Linked DNA regions of Homo sapiens: regions 1 and 2 are each linked to region 3. Evidence: promoter capture Hi-C in 16 types of primary human blood cells and fetal thymus (Javierre and others, 2016). All regions are on one chromosome and are shown on one strand. The core of a region is centred on a gene start or on the middle of the fragment in contact, and the rest is flanking DNA. Distances in the headings are between cores, read along the strand shown.

The links. The method cuts DNA at HindIII sites, captures the fragments that hold promoters and counts their contacts. A CHiCAGO score of 5 or more calls a contact.
Region 1: a contact is called between a fragment that was not itself captured here and the fragment with the promoter of ERCC8 in region 3, in 1 of 17 cell types (activated CD4 T cells). The highest score is 5.1, in activated CD4 T cells.
Region 2: a fragment that was not itself captured here is called in contact with the fragment with the promoter of ERCC8 in region 3 in 10 of 17 cell types (naive CD4 T cells, total CD4 T cells, activated CD4 T cells and 7 more); the score reaches 13.2 in naive CD4 T cells.

Annotation. Positions count from the first base shown.
Region 1 is chr5:61,535,633-61,538,969 of GRCh38, reverse strand. It overlaps ZSWIM6 (zinc finger SWIM-type containing 6), which reads right to left. Exons shown (of 14, transcript NM_020928.2): 11 at 1-156. Among named protein-coding and RNA genes, the nearest start is that of LINC03122, 100 kb to the left of the region's middle. The HindIII fragment of the contact is 1,317 bases long and covers 1,103-2,419 here.
Region 2 is chr5:61,654,473-61,658,229 of GRCh38, reverse strand. All of the region lies in intron 1 of LINC03122 (long intergenic non-protein coding RNA 3122), which reads right to left. Among named protein-coding and RNA genes, the nearest start is that of LINC03122, 19 kb to the right of the region's middle. The HindIII fragment of the contact is 4,377 bases long and covers 1-3,757 here.
Region 3 is chr5:60,943,775-60,947,578 of GRCh38, reverse strand. ERCC8 (ERCC excision repair 8, CSA ubiquitin ligase complex subunit) reads left to right here and starts at 2,509. Exons shown (of 12, transcript NM_000082.4): 1 at 2,509-2,647. The coding sequence starts at 2,571. It overlaps NDUFAF2 (NADH:ubiquinone oxidoreductase complex assembly factor 2), which reads right to left and starts at 2,374. Exons shown (of 4, transcript NM_174889.5): 1 at 2,197-2,374. The coding sequence starts at 2,323. RefSeq lists an enhancer at 1,609-1,738. The HindIII fragment of the contact is 6,619 bases long and covers 1-2,710 here.

The DNA.
Region 1 (3,337 bases), core at 512-3,011, 590 kb before region 3:
TTGGCTGCAGTTAGCATGGTGGATGCCAGCTCACACTGCTGGGACTCAATGTGGCTTAGAGTGAACCAGCGAGGGTAGCGGTTGGGAACAACTGATGCAATGTGGTGTGGGCGGGTGAGGTCTCCTGATGGAGCAGTAGATTCCAATACTAGTAACCTATAATGAGAAGACAAGGAAGGTGGCCCCTAGTTATTTCTTGACCATGTCCTTGGCCAGAAAGACTGGCCAACAGAAGCCAGAGGAGTGGGTAGATGTTCAGGCCTCTACTCAAGTTCAGCAAGGGCTGGTACAGCTATACTCTGCTGTGTGGGTGCAAAATACCTAGATTTTTTGGACTACTAATTGTTTGCTAATAATAACTGTTCATCACCCAAACCTTGTTAGTTGTTCATCACCCAAACCTAAGAGATTTTCTTTCTTTAGCACCATTCAGAAAATTACAATATTCAAATAAATTAAGATACGCAAACACCGAAGAACTTTTAAACACAGGTCTTGATGTTTACCTACAAATTTTGAATTCTATGACTCAAAAAATAAATCAACAGAAACTGATAGTGAAATGGATATTTAAGACTGAGATCACAGTCAGGAAGCAGTGAGTACTTAAGATGAATAAGCTTAACCTATTTAAACATAAAACAAGAAGGGAAGTAAGACAAAAATTACCTCTTTTCCATCCATTCATACTTTCTGAACAATTAGTTTCTTATGACTCCAGGAATTTGACATTAGACTATGTTCTACCAACCATATTACAGAAGATAAATGTGACCTAAGTGTCTGTCCCTTGACAGTTTTGCATAAATTCAGAGTGATTTCTGATTTTTTATTAAGAATATACTGTCATGGCGAAACCCTGTTTCTACAAAATATAAATCAGTTGGGTGTGGTGGCATGTGCCTGTAATCCCAGCTACTTGGAAGGCTGAGATGGGAGGATCAGCTGAGCCTGGGAGCCATGATTACACCACACCGCACTCCAGCCAGGGCAACAGAGCAAAACCCTGTCTCAAAACAAATAAAAAAAGAATATGCTGATGAAAAAATTTCTAAAAGCAAAGCAAATATTTAGTAATCTCTTCTAAAAGTACCAAAAAGCTTAGTAGAGTACCTAAAGCTGAAATAATTTATTTACAACCATCAAAATGCCGGCCTTCAGTCAAGTACACCAGTGTTAAGAACTATGAAATAAGATAAGAGCTGGAGACCAAGAAGAGTCAGCTGGGTCTGGGAGTGATGCTGGCCTCAAGGCCCCACCCAAGAGCAATTATTGCCTGGTAAGCCAAATGGCTCATTCTCTTCTCCTTTTATTTAGGAACAAAAAGATGTCAGCAGTAGAGAAGGTGGCAAGGTAGGCAGTTAAGTAGTAAGAATAATGGCAGGGTTGCTATTTAGCTTTTTTTTTTTTAACTCAGAATATCCTCGTATTCACAGGCAGGTCTTGCCAGACTTACTGTAGAAGAAACTAATCAACATCCCTGGGAAGATGAGAAAATGAGTGCTGAAGATGACCTTCCTTAGCCTTCCTCTTCCAGAAGGACTAAGAAGCATGCGAGCTACATCTCTCTTTTCCTTCCTGTTCCCTGGGCTGCCTTGCAATACCTGGTGGGGCACATACCTGCCTTCCATGGCAGACCTTTGGCAGGATAGTAGTGGCAGATAGAAGAGAGAAAGTGGAAAAAAAATTCCCCTGTACCCTGCTAGTATTCCCCATTAAGAAACTGCCTTGGCAGCAACCAAGGACAAATATAAATGAGTTTGTGAGTGTTAGAAAAGCAAGCCTTTCTGCCTGGCACATACCATTACATAAGCCAGAACCACACAGAAACTTTATGCTATTTTACCCTTAAACTTTGCCAGTGGTAGTAGCAACAGCATCTGGTGGCACCATAACATTAACATCTTCCCTTTAAAACAAGATTAGAATTCCTAAGATTTGAGTAAGTATAGAGTTGAGCATATGTCTTCATAAGACAGCTTCCATTTCAGCTTCCAAAAATAAAAATAGGAACCCACTTATTTTAAAATCGTGCTCTAAAACATAAACCAAGTGGTATAATGTAATTTGGTGGGGGACTTTTGCTGATGTTTGTTATTGACTTATTTTCTGGTATTTTAAAAATAGAAAAAAGAATACTTAAGAAGATTCTCCAGCAGGTTAGTAAGATTCCATATTGCCAAGGAAAGCATGTCAAATTACAGGATGTCAGCCTTAAAACACACTGACACATAGGTATACACACAGACACATACACACATCCTTATCACTGCATAAAAAAGAGGTGTCCTTATACACATAAGCTACACTCAATACTTTCAGAACAGGGTAACTTTGGGGACACTGGTAATTTATAGGCAAGGATTTGTTTTAGAATCTACTTCTCTGATTACAGACATAGAATCTTTGATGAAAAGCTTCTTGAGATCAAACTGTTAATCAGCACACACAAGCTTTTAGGTCTACAACATGGCTTGTCCTTAGGTGATCTGTACTTTCCATTAGAAGCACAGGAGTGTTTTATTAATTTTTTTAAAGGAAAAAGAAAATGCTGATGTTTTAAGAAAGATGGATGTACCTTTTAGGTCCTTAAAATTTAAAGGTTATTTGTAAGATTAAAATATAATCTTGAACTCATTAAAATATTCACCTTGAACAAATCTGTGATAAAAATAATTATTATGTGAAATAACTTTTAAAAGAAGGTAGAAATAAAAAGGTGGGTGGTAGAGAACAACATATTCTAACTGTTATTGCTGAAAAGGAGAGACCGATGAGGAGATGGAAGCAGTCAGAAGAGAGGCAGGCAGAGCCTGAAGGACCCCGAATAGCGACTCCTTCACTGCTAAATGCACGTCCCACCTTCTCTCAGCCTCCAGTGAATACAGATGTGCCTTGGCAATACAGGGAGTTGCTTTCCTGCACTACTGATGGAATGCGGAATTACAGCAGGTGTGAAGGTCTCCCTCAATTATATTCAAGCCAGTATATTTACTATTTACTACTGCTTCAAAAATCAATTTTTTCAAAACAATTAATCATTTATGAAGGTTTCAACTGTTGCTGTTTTATGATTAAACTTGGCTTGAATTGTGCTTCACGAAAAAGTAGGAAAAAGCCACGGTGTGCTTGAGTCTGATAGCAGCAAGGATAACCCTTCCCTTACTTTAAACAGAAGCAAAACAAGCCAACAAGCAAATCACCTCCACAACAATACAGGAAGCATAAATACATAGTTTCTTTAGCTTTTCTGCTGCCTATAAGAAACATGAAGGAGTAAGTCAGTTAACAGCCATGCTTCCCAGTGGGAATGTGGCCTGCCTCTGCCCAGCTGGGC
Region 2 (3,757 bases), core at 938-3,437, 710 kb before region 3:
AACATTATTGAGGATAATTTTTATTAAGTTTAAAACTCCCTTTTTCCAGTAATGAGACTGTTATGAGGATAATTTAATCTAGTTTGTCATGAGGCACCCCGGCTTGTTAAATAAGTTAATAAATGACTGTGCATTAATCAAAGTGACAAAGCTATGAAGAGCTGGGGATGGGAGACAATTCTGGTGATAGTATTAATTAGTATTTAATTAGAAACTTAGGGCCCATAAATAAAAAAAAAATCATGGTAGAGACATTTATGCAAATTGCTCAGAGCCTGCAGTGGAGTTAGCTTTGCTTTAAAGAAACATGATTTTTTTTTCTAACATACTGTACACGGCAGCACTGTGGCCACATCACGTGGCTTAAACGAGCTCTTCTTTTGTTTCCAATTTGTTCCAATTACAGGCCTGTAAATTCAAATCATTCTTTTGACTGTCTTGATTGAAATGTAGAGTTTCCACAATTTCTACTGGGAGTTCTGTTTTTTTCTTCTTTTAATAAAAAAGGAGAAGTGTTTTAAAGACATAAAGAAGAGCTTTAGATTCTTTTTCTGCTCTTTTAATTAAGATGTGTGCCACCATTTTCTAAGAACAATTGTGGATTCCATTTGGTACACAAACAATGCCTCCTTTTTCAATCCTGGTGAGCTGTAACTAGGTTTTGTTATGTGATATAATATTGAAGACTGCATAGATTCAACTGCCATCATTTTTATGATAATCATAGCACTTTTAGCTTTTCTCTCAATAATGTACTTGGATAAATGGGCAATTTTTGATGGCCCAAAAAGATAATAACCGTTTGGTTCTGAACGTCACTGCTTTCCTAAGGTACATGTTCCCCCTTTTCAGACTTTATTATTTGTTGCATTTATTCAAGAAAGGTTATCCACAGTAAAACTGCTTTTTCTATTCAACAGTCTATCTCTGTCATGGTTCATTTATGTGTGAGCATGACGGACTGAAGCCCGTATTATCCACAGCTGACAAGTGTCAGGCCGACAGTTCAATCAGCCCTTCCTCGAGATGATGCCCAGGGCCCCGTGTTTGAAGTAGGACAATAAAGCAGGCAACACAATCCGGGCAAACTGATCCGATCCCTGTATGTAAAGGGGATTCTGCTTAATAACACAGTGTGGTTTTTTTCCCTCTCCAAACACATTAGTCCTTAAACAGTGAGTTGGCCCTTAAGAAAATCTGTGACTGACATGAAAATGCTGAAGTTTTAAGGTGGTTGGTTTATCCGTAACCTCATGGGGCTGCTTCTTTGTGCAGACTAGTTTTGTCAAAGTCAGAAAAATAATGTATTCAGTGTCTGATCATTTTTAGGGAGTTATTCGAATGGGATTTTAAGTCAGACATCCTGATGTTGACACAGGGATCATTTTCTTGTCCTTTTGTTTTACATTTGTGGAACAGATCATTTGCATTGGCTAATAAAATTAAATCTCTGAAATGCATACAAAAGTGAGTTCCCTTCAGCAACAATCCTCAATTCCCTCCACCAGCCGAGTAAGCAGAGTTGCTGGGTGTGTTTCTTTATATTGGGTCTCTCTAGAACACAGGCTATAATGCAAACATATCTTCAAAATTAGTGCTCCTTCGGCCTGGGTAACACTTAGACTCAAATGTATATTAAAGTATTTCACTACAGATCCTGACAATCAACAGCAGAGCCAAAGTCGATAAAATGCTAATAACCTGCTGCGGTCTGTTCCTTGGAGGACTGGGGTACTGCTGTTGTGCTCTCTTCCAGCCTTCAAACCATTGCAGGCGACAACGGGCAAGGGAAGGCGGCTCACCCCTTTAGAAGGGGCCAGAGCACTACATGCCTTTCATAAGGAGGAAGCCAAAGACCCTCTTAAAGCATCATAAAACCTTCAAGCCAGAAGGCACAATGCAAAACATCAAACCCAACCTCTTCCATACTTGATGAATGAGGCTCAGAGACATTTTTGTGACTTCCAACGTCAGAGAGCTTGTAAGTAGCAGTGGAAGGAAAAGGTTAACAACAACAACAAAAGAATCCTCTGAATTTTGCTTCTCTTTATATGACTTTACTAGGCTGGGCAAGTTAGTGCAGAAGGGACTGATGAAAAGCAGAATCCAGAAGTCAGAACGTGAGGAATGATGCCGGCAACTACCAAACATGACTTCTGTCAATTTCCTTCTTGCACAATGCTGGAAGTCCTAAGTAACGTATTTTCTGTGAATGTTGGTTTTTCTCCGTCTACCCTGCTCTGTCCGAATCTACCCATTTACTGCATTCTCTCCCCCACTTTGACCCCACAGACCACATCACCCAAACACCCTTGGCTGCTGGCTTCCAACTGTATTAGAGACGAGGGGAGGCACTAATGGCCAGTCAAGTGGGAAGAGAGAAGCTACACTGTGTCCTTGTCCCCTGCTTGGACTCCCCATCTCAGAAGAAGACTGTGTCCCTCCAGCACTCCTGCTTCCACCGAGAGGCTCTTCCTCCAGGGCTCCAACTATCATGGGCCCCAGTCCCTCAGTTTCCTCCCCTTGGCCCTTCATCCTTGGGGATACCAGCTCCCCACTGGTGCTAAACTTGGGGTGCCTCCCATCTCTTGTTTGTCCACCTACCTCTGCCCACACTTCTGAAGTAGCCCCTTCTTTAAAGTCTCCAGCAGAACCATCTCCAGTGAGTTCTGTTTCCTGCTGGGACTCTGATGCATTGAGTGATTTGCATTGCTAACTGATCCTACTTCTAGTCCAGTAGTTCTTAGGATATTCTAAAATCCCACAGAGAATCTGATGAAAGCTATAGGATCTCTTCCCACACACACAAAAAAGTCACTTCTGCACATATGCATAAAATTTCAGACAACTGTGGCATGCTCATAGACACTTAAAGGCTATTTACAAATTTTCTAGGGCATCCATGAAACCCCCAATATCAAACACCCATTTGCTCCATTTGATCATATCACGTCCTTCTCAAAAGCCTCTCCTGATGTCAAATCAACTACCAGAAAGCATGAAACCCAGACTCCTCAGAGCAGCATTTCAGGCTAAATCTGCCAGGGCCCCATTAACAAAAGAGCTGAAGGGGAAATTTAATACAGGGGAGTTGTTGCAAAGGTGGAGAAAGAGGTGAAATGACAAGGGCAATGGTAAGGCAATCCAAAGATCAGCACCAGCAGCAAGCCAGGAATGAGGCCTGAGGGTCAAAGGAAAGAGGTGATGTCACCAAAGCCCAGGAGCCAGGGCTGTCCGGGGGAGCCAAAATCATAACAGGGGTCTCTCGACAGGAGCTGGAGTCCAGAAAAAAGACCCAGCCACAGCTGGTGATGCTGCCAAAGCAGAAAGAGAAGGTGAGGACTCTCAGGGCTTCTTTTCTCCTGCAGCTCTCCAGTCTTCACAGACCACATGACTCAGCAGCTAGCTGAGCAAAAGCCTGCAGGGATGCCTGAGGACCAGGGCAGGGGGAAGGCTGCGATGAGCATAAGATACAACAGGCCAGCCCAGGCATGGTGGCTCACGCCTGTAATCCCACCACTTTGGGAGACCGAGGCAGGTGGATCATCTGAGGTCAGGAGTTCAAGACCAGCCTGACCAAAATGGTGAAACCCCATCTCTACTAAAAATACAAAACTTAGCCAGGCATGGTGGCGGGCGCCTGGAGTCCTAGCTACTCAGGAGGCTGAGACAAGAGAATTGCTTGAACCCAGGAGGCGGAGGTTGCAGTGAGCCAAAATCGCACCACCGCACTCCAACCTGGGTGACAGAGCAAGAC
Region 3 (3,804 bases), core at 1,260-3,759:
GGCCAGGCTGGTCTGGAACTCCTGATCTCAGGTGATCCACCCACCTCGGCCTCCCAAAGTGGTGGGATTACAGGCATGAGCCACCGGACCCAGCCATAAATGGATTTTTTAATGGGCAAAAGGTTTGAACAATACTTCACCGAAGATCTGTAGATAGTAAATAAGCACATGAAAAGACTGTCAACATCCTCAGGCATTAGGAAAATGAAACTTAAAATCACAATGAGATACCACTATATACCTATCAAAATGGCTAAAATAAAAATAAAAACACACCCAAAAATCAGATAATACTAAGTGCTGGTGAGGGTGTGGAAACAACTAGAATTTTAATGCATTGCTGGCAGGAATACAAAATGGTACAGCCACTTTGAAAAACAGTTTGGTAGTTTCTCATAAAGTTAAACACACATTGATCACACAACTTAGTAATCCCACTACTAGATATTTACCCAAGAGATATGAAAACTTACGTTCACACAAATCCTGTATGGGAATGTTTGTAGAGCTTTTGTCACAATCACAGAAACTGGAAACATCCTAATGTCCTTCAGCTTGTGAACAGATAAACTGGCAAACCCATACAATGGAATACTACTGAGCAATAAAAAGGAACAACTACTGACACATGGATGAATCTCAGCTACATTATGCTATGTGAAGCAAGCCAGACTCAAAAGTCTAAATCCTGTATAATTCCATTTATATGATATTCTAGAAAAGACAAAACTATAGGCCCATAAAACACATCAGTAGTTGCCAAAGGGTGTGGGAATGAACTACTAAGGAGTTGGAGGAAATTCTGATGGTGATGGAATTATTCTATTACTTGAATCCAGTGAGGTTACTCTACTCATTTGTCAAAAACAATAAAACTGTACACCATAAAGGGTGAATGTTACTGTATGTAAATTATATTTCAATTTAAAAAAACTCAGTCTGACAGTTTGCATATTTTTAATTTTACTGACAACTTATGGAAAAGAAACATCTCTCTGCTTGCAACCTGTCAAGAAATACTTAACACCATGCTATGTTCTTTGCAGGCTTTTTTCTTTTTTTGTGAGACATATTCCCTGCCTGACAGAGGAGCTCATTAGGGAAACAAGTCTAAATATTAAAATAAGTTACAGAAAAAGGCCAGGCAAAAATAAATTAATTGAGTGATAAATCACAGAATACATTTTATATGTGTGGGAAATGAATGGCACATAATCTTGGAAAGGTCTTAGTGCTTCTCAACATTGCTGATCTTATATTATCTCTAACTTTCAAGTGAGGATGTTGAGACTTGGAGAGGACAAGTACTTTTTCCGTGATTCCCGAGCTATCAGGTGTCAAAGCTGAGATTCTAACCCACGCCTCTTCGCCCAAAACCTGACATTTTCTGCATGCGGCGATGGAACAACACAGAAGAGGTTACGACGGCGGCTACACAGTGTGATTTCAATGGACAGCAACGCCTCCTTACTCCCCAAACAACCCGCTCAACTACTTGGCACGAATCCTACACAGTAACACCATGATTATTGCCACGTTTCTTAAATTGAGCTCAACGGGGTCTTGGAATGTCAACTCCCGAGAAAGGAATCAGCGAGCCTTGTGGGGATATGGACCTACTTCTGACAAGTCTTGGTAGTAAGGAAGGCGCATGGGGCCAGCGCCGGAGCCAGGGTGCCACCGAAAAGGGTAAACACCAAGAAAGAAGACAGCCGAGGCGCTGAAGATACTCCTCTTCAATTACACCACTCAGCTCTGGGTCACAAGGCGGGGAACAGCGTACGAAAAACCCCTCCCCTGGCCCTTCTAGCCCCTTTGGTGAAAGATTTCCGTGGACTTTTCCCTGCCTCCGTCGCCAGTCCAGGGCTAAAACTGAGGCTCCTCTACAGGCGTGGCTGGGAGGAAAGTGGTGGTGCGCCTTAACAGCGCAAGCAGCCCGGGGCACGCCGGGGGAAGGCGCTGGGTAGTAGGGACCGCGGACGCACGAGGCCGGGCCAAGGCGCCCAGAGCCGGGCCGGGTAGGGCTCCGATGCCAGAGTGAAGGGGTCGACAGGGGAGAACGAACTCGGGAAATTCTCTCCGGTGACACCCTAAGTGTCGCATGATGCGTTAGTTGACTAGGGGCTCTCACTTTTCCCTCCTTTACTGACCTCGCAATCACTGACCACGCAATCGCTGCCCACGCCGCCACCTCACCTCTCCAGTTCTTGTACTGCGGGATGTAGTAGTATTTGTTCCCGAATTGGTCCGTGCCCACGTGCTCCTTCACTTCCCTTGACAGCGATCTCCACAAGGCGCGGAACAAATCCTGAGACCAACCCATGCCGTCCACCCAGTTTCCAGCGCTGCCAGCAGCGGGACCCGCAGTAGGGGTAATGCTCCAGCCGCCGACCCAGCCCACCGAGGCGGAGAAGTCAGGTCGGCCTCCATCCTGGAGCCCTTCTAGTAACGGCGCTCACCATTGGCCGGATATATCACCGACTGACCAATGGGAGACTCTGCTGTTCCAGTCCCGCCCCTGAGCTCTGTCATGGCGACGTCCAGTGCTCCAGCCGGTGTGAGGACACGATATGCTGGGGTTTTTGTCCGCACGCCAAACGGGTTTGGAGGACCCTCTTCGCCTTCGGAGAGCAGAGTCAACACGGAGGTAAAGAAAACCTTACTTTTTGGCTAACAGGCCAGTTAGAATCTGGACCAATGACTGTAAGCTTTGCCCCACACTTTCCCGTCTCATCGCTCTCCTGCCACCAAACTATTATTTGCCCTCTAATGCTGTGTGGCTTGCTAAAATAGGATCCCTTTTATTTACTGGTAACAACTTGCAGGCGGGGGGCGGCGGGGGTGGGGGGGGTTCCCCGGGGGTGGGGGGGGGGTTCCCCCGCGGGCTCAGGTGAAGACACTATAAACCTAAATAAGAATACTTCGTTGTACTGTATTCCTTCTCTCTTAAGTTACTCCAAAGAATAACTGCCCTCCACGGACTCGTTCATTCATTCAGTCTGCATATTTAGTGAATTCCTACAGTGTGCCAGGCAGCCTATTAAAGGCAGAGGACACAGGCCAGGAATTGAACAAAGTTCAGAATGACTAGAGCGGAGAATTGGGGTAGGGACCATTGACAAGAGATGAAGTAGACAGAAACTAGATGAGGAAGAGCCTTGTGTACTTGAGTAGAGGTGTGAAGATGAGAATAAGGTAACAGCTATTGCATTTTGTTTTCTGCTTGGAGAATGGGTTGCAACTGAGAACAAGAGTGGGAGCCAAGTTAGGTAACTGTTGTGATTACACTTGTCCGGGAGAGAGTTGTTGGAAGCCTGGGCCACAGAGTTGCCAAGTAGAATAAAGATAGTGGAGAGATTTGAACAACGTCTGAGAAATAGAATCAACAGGCCATGGAAATTGAGTGGATACGTGAATGACAAAAAGAGAAGAATGAATAATGATTCCCAGATCTATGCCTTGTATAAGAAGTTGAATGTTGGTAATATACTCTGAGAGAGGGTTTTCCAAAGGGAAGAAGCAAGTTGTACTTTTAATTTTGCCCACATTAATTGAGGAACCTGTGAAGATATTTACTTGGAGAACACAGTTGCTTATGAGTTCTGCGTTCTGGAGAAATTTAAATATTAGTTTCCAACATTTTATCCATTACGTTTTCAATGTTGTGAAATATCTCTGAGAGTTCCTTTAATGTGTTTTTTTTGCCAGTGTCACTTCCTCTGACACATCATCAGCCTTTCATCACAATCACTTTTCCTCATTTATGTCTATAAGTTCACCTTCACTGATTTCCTCAGTCTGCAT